2 separate regions of the Homo sapiens genome follow, and region 2 is linked to region 1. The links are contacts of gene promoters, found by promoter capture Hi-C in blood cells and fetal thymus (Javierre and others, 2016). All regions are on one chromosome and are shown on one strand. The core of a region is centred on a gene start or on the middle of the fragment in contact, and the rest is flanking DNA. Distances in the headings are between cores, read along the strand shown. Region 1 holds the start of TIMM22 (translocase of inner mitochondrial membrane 22). Region 2 overlaps DOC2B (double C2 domain beta).

The links. Contacts are between HindIII fragments. The CHiCAGO score rates a contact against its expected background, and 5 or more counts as called.
Region 2: a contact is called between a fragment that was not itself captured here and the fragment with the promoter of TIMM22 in region 1, in 15 of 17 cell types (naive CD8 T cells, M2 macrophages, fetal thymus and 12 more). The highest score is 15.1, in naive CD8 T cells.

What each region holds. Positions count from the first base shown.
Region 1 is chr17:995,730-998,429 of GRCh38, forward strand. TIMM22 (translocase of inner mitochondrial membrane 22) reads left to right here and starts at 1,400. Exons shown (of 4, transcript NM_013337.4): 1 at 1,400-1,651. The coding sequence starts at 1,414. RefSeq lists an enhancer at 1,422-2,113. The HindIII fragment of the contact is 11,380 bases long and covers 1-2,700 here.
Region 2 is chr17:150,637-153,336 of GRCh38, forward strand. The region is part of intron 6 of DOC2B (double C2 domain beta); the gene reads right to left. Among named protein-coding and RNA genes, the nearest start is that of SCGB1C2, 14 kb to the left of the region's middle. The HindIII fragment of the contact is 3,739 bases long and covers 1-2,700 here.

The DNA.
Region 1 (2,700 bases), core at 150-2,649:
AGGTTGCAGTGAGCGGAGATTGCACCACTGCACTCCAACCTGGGTGACAGAGCAAGACTCTGTCTCAAAAGAGTAATTTTAAAAAGTAAGGCAACAAATTATCAGGAGTTTTTGAGCTGGTTGTTAAGCACAGTTATTATTAAAAATTACATTCTATACATTTATAATAAATTACACTAAAAATAGGTAATATGTGCTCAAAACTCATCCCCTCCTAAAAATTTTACTACACTGTACTCCTATCTATGCTGTTGAGGTTATTTCCATAGATTGTATCTGTGTGATAGAAACACCATGTAACCACATGCTGCTGTACGTCTTCCCAATTCTGACTGATGACCTCGCTTGGTAGTTTGAAATCAGCCATGATGGGGATATTAACACCACACAAGTCAGCAAATGCTGTCAGTTAGGATTTTTTTTTTTTTTTTTTTTTTTTTGAGACGGAGTCTTGCTCTTGTCGCCCAGGCTGGAGTGCGATGGTGCGATCTTGGCTCACTGCAACCTCCACCTCCCGGGTTTAAGAGATTCTCCTGTCTCAGCCTCCCGAGTAACTGAGATTACAGGCGCCTGCCGCCACCTGGCTAATTTTTATATTTTTAGTAGAGACGGGGTTTCCTGCTTCAGCCTCCTAAGTAGCTGAGAATACAGGCGTGCACCACCATGCCCAGCTAATTTTTTTATTTTTTATTTTTTTAATTTTTAGTAGAGATGGGGTTTCACCATGTTTGTCAGACTGGTCTCGAACTCCTGACCTCGTGATCCACCGGCCTCGGCCTCCCACAGTGCTGGATGACAGGCGTGAGCCCCCGCGCCCGGTCCGTGCATTTACAGCACAAGTTCACGCTTATCTACAAAGCATCCACCTCTCACCGCACCTTCCGGGACCACGGGATTTAACGCCTCACCGCCCGATGACAGCACGAGGTGGAAAGGGCAGCGACAATGCTCGCGCGTCCCCTCCCGGCGATCCGGAGCACGGCAGCCCCGGAGCGCGCGGCCACTCCTCGCTCCCCTCAGGAGCTCGTAAGAGCCCCGCGCGGGGCCGAGGCGCGAGAGCACGCGCAACGCTTCCTGGGAAATGTAGTTGGGTGTCGGATTAGAACTACAAATCCCGGTACTCACCGCGCTGCAGCCCCGACCGTGAGGGCGCTTTCTGGTGAATCTGAATCTCGTTTGTCTGTGACATGGGGAAAGCTGTCCAAGCCCAATTCCATTTTCACAAGAGGCTTTCTTTTTGGAAACATGATAGCGGTCTCGCTGGTGTGCGCACCAGGAGCGTTGCGGCCGCGGCTTCCTCCTGCGGCGAATCTGCCGTTGCATCACAGTGGCTAGTCTCAGGGCCCGCAACGTGACGCTTGTCGAATCTGCTGCGGGGAGAAGGACGCGAGGGTTGCTTGGGCAGCGACTGTCATGGCGGCGGCCGCCCCCAATGCCGGAGGCTCGGCCCCTGAGACAGCGGGTTCCGCCGAAGCTCCGCTGCAGTACAGCCTGCTCCTGCAGTACCTGGTGGGTGACAAGCGTCAGCCCCGGCTCCTGGAGCCTGGGAGCCTGGGCGGGATCCCAAGTCCAGCCAAGAGTGAGGAGCAGAAGATGATCGAGAAGGCGATGGAAAGCTGCGCTTTCAAGGCTGCGCTGGCCTGCGTGGGAGGTGAGGCCGGGCGATGGGACCCTTGGGAGGCTGAGGGCCTGGACGGCAGTGGGGATCTCTGCCGAGAAGACCACGCGCCTGGGAGGCGAGGGACTGCGGGCCTTGACCTTGACCACACCCTCGCCTCGTTCGTGAATCGGGCGTCACCTCTCCTGCCCCCTCAGGCCGGCTTTCCTGATGAAAATTGGGTTAGAGAATCGGTGCTGTGGTTGGGGCCTGAAAGTTATTACATGACATCCTGGCTAACACGGTGAAACCCCGTCTCTACTAAAAATACAAAAAATTAGCTGGACGTGGTGGTGGGCGCCTGTAGTCCCAGCTATTCGGGAGGTTGAGGCAGGAGAATCGCTTGAACCCAGGAGGCGGAGCTTGCAGTGAGCCGAGATGTGCCACTGCTCTCCAGCCTGGGCGACAGAGCGAGACTCCGTCTCAAAAACAACAACAAAAAGTTATTACGTGGGTGACTTCATTCATCCGTTCATTCCCTTAAATTCATTCTCTTAAATAATTCTTTCAACAAATTGTTCCTAAGCAATATCACGTGCCAGGTGAAAGAGACAAGAGCCTGGTCTTCATGGGGCCTGTATTATACTATGTGGAGAAGAATGTTGAGCAGGAACACTGCAGAGGAAGGATGCAGACATATGGAAATGCACATGCAGACGACTCTAGGGCAGCAGTTGTTTGAGGTTTGAAAAACTGAAAGACCATTGTGACTAGACAGCCCCGAGCAAGGAGAGACGAAGTCTGCACTTGTCCTTCTGTTTTTCCCTTAAGTTGAAGGGGAGGTGCCCATGATTTTATTAAACTCATATTGACCATGAGGTCATGAGAGGGCATCCATCTGGACATGTCCAGCCGGCTCAGGAAGGACAGATGTGGCAGCAGTGTGGGATTTGCCATTAGGTAGCTGTGTGGCCTTGGGAGAAGTTGCTTAACCTCTCTGAGCCTCAGTTTATAGAAAGGAGAGGCTAATAGCATCTGTCTCACTGGATTATTGTGAAGAATGAATGAGGCTGTGGCATACTGGCATGTGCTCAGTAAAGCAT
Region 2 (2,700 bases), core at 192-2,691, 850 kb before region 1:
GGTTTATTACAGAAGCACTAGAAAATGCATGTGGACAAAAGTTGGGATTAGGAGAGAGAAATGAAGACATATGTCCACACAAAAACCTGTTCATTGCAGCTTTCTACCATCACCAAAAATTGCAAACAACCACACGCCCTTCAACTGGGGAACTCATCAACAACAAACTTGTGGTTTACCCACACAATGGAAGACCACTTAGCAACAAAAAGGACCAAACTCCTGGTACATGCAACTGACAGATGAATCTCAAACGCATTCCTCCGTGTGAAAGAAGCCGGACTCACAGGGCAACACACTATCTGACTGTTTCATGGGAAAGTCTGGAAACGGCAACACCATTGAGACAGAAAACAGGTGAGTGGTTGCCTGGGGCCAGGGAACTTTCTGGGGTCATATTCTCTGTGTTGATTCTGGTGGTGGAAACAAGACTGTCCCAGCCTGGGTGATACAGCGAGACCCCATCTCTACCAAAAAATTAAAAATTAGCTGGGCATGGTGGTGCATGCCTGTAGTCCCAGCTATTCACAGTGCTGAGGTGGGAAGATGCTTGAGCCCAGGAGTTCAAGGCTGCAATGAGCTATGATTGCGCCACTGCACTTTGGCCTGGACAACAGAGCAAAACCCTGTCTCTAAAAAAAGAAAAGAAAAGAAAAACTCACTGGATATGAATGATACAGGTTGAGGATCCATTATCTGAAATGCTTGGACCAGATGTTTTGAATTTTGGATTTTTTCATATTTTGTAATCTTTGCAGTATATTTACCAGTTCAGCATCCCTAACTCAAAAATTCAAAAATCTGAAATCCCAAACGCGCCAATAAGCATTCCCTTTGAGCGTCATGTCGGTGCTTGGAATGTTTGGGGTTTTGGATTTACAGCTTTGGGACGCTCAACCTGTACCTCAATAAACCTGATTTTAAAAAAGTTTGGGGGGATTCCCCTAAGCCCGCCACCCGGAGACAGCGGATTTCCTTAGTTACTTACTATGCTCCTTGGCCATTTCTCTAGGTATTGGTATATTGTGTCTGCTGTGAACTGTCCTTGGCCTGTTTGGTGACGGGTGAGGAGCAGGGACAGAAGGGTCCTGCGTGCCCTGCCTTCACAAGCCCCTGGAAGGAAAGTTGTTTTGGGATCTCTGCACCCTCAGCCTGGACAACTTGTGCCCATCTGGTGACCCCTCACTCAGCCACCAGACTTCCACGACAGGCTCCAGCCTCGGCACCTTCAGCCATGGACAGTTCCGCCAGCGTTGCCCTCTGTTCTGCTGTTTTCTCTACCAGAAGTGCCCTTCCCTCCTCACCTGACCACTCTGGGGAAATCCCTCAGCACCCTCCCTGAGCATACCCTACTCTGGCACAAGCCCACCCTGCAAAGCCCCTGAGGCCCGCCCTGTGGCGTCTCTCCCTCCCTTGCTGTCAGGACAGTGGTCCTGGCCACCGGGGCTCACGGAGCCGCCCTGTGCCGTGTACCTCTGAGCCCTCTGCACAGTGCCTTCTGCTTGCCTGTGGCTTTGAGAAGAAACCCCTTCTGGTTATACATAAGACAGCCAGAGAAGGGAGTTGCCCAGGGTGGCACAGCACGTTGCTGCCAGTTACTGCCATTTTCACGGGCATGAAATGGAGATAACAACAGGAGCGACCGCACAGGCTGCTGAGCGCGTCACACGCAGCCATCGCGCAGCTCAGGGATATTACGTGTAACTCGACATGTCAGCGATTGTCACAGGCACTGCTACTCCTGGGGTTTTCCATCAAACCCTCAAGAGCTGGGCCTGGGGTCAACTTCCGGCCTGGGGAAACTGGGGCAAGTATCACCAGAGATGAGCTTTATAAAAATAATGGTGCTAGCTGGGCATGGTGGCTTGCACCTGTAATCCCAGCACTTTGGGAGGCCGAGCTAGGAGGATCGTTTGAGTCCAGCAGTTTGAGACCAGCCTGGCCAATACGGCAAAACCCAGTCTCTACAAAAAATACAAAAAACAACTAGCCAGGCGTGGTGGTGCACACCTGTAGTCCCAGCTACTCAGGAGGCTGAGGGGGAAGGACTGCTTGAGCCCAGGAGTTTGAGGCTGCTGTGAGCTGTGATCGCATCACTGCATTCCAGCCCGGTGACAGAGTGAGTCACTGTCTCAAAAAAGAAAGGAAGAAATAAAGAAAACAAATAAAAATAATAGTGCAGACAAAAGGCCTTGACCCATCTAGCTTTGGCCCTCAGCATCAACCGCTAGATACGTCCCTCCCTTTCTTCTGGGGCACAGGTCACACTCTCTTCCAGGTCTAGGATGCAGCTGAGGGGTGCCCCTCTTACCATCTAATCTGTGCCCTTATTTCCTCTGCTTTAGTGAGGAAGAGGCCCCTGGTCCATGAAGGGGCCTTTCAGAGACGGGGACCCCTGAGGAGCCCCGAGCAGCAGCCGTCGTGTCTCACCCAGGGTGTCTGAAACAGATGTGGAGGTCTCGGGTGAGGCGTGGCTCAGATACAGGGAGTGGCCCACAGCTCGGCCTGTCTTTGAAAGGCCACGTGACCTGGCCCACGGCTGGCAGGTGGGACCCAGCTGCAGGGGTCCAGCAGCACCCACAGCAGCCACCTGTGGCAGGGAGGAGCTTGTGGTACAGTGGACAGGCCCTGCCCAGATGGCCCCCCGCCTGCCTGTGGAAGTTGACCAGACCATCTGTCACAGCAGGTAAGACTCTGCTT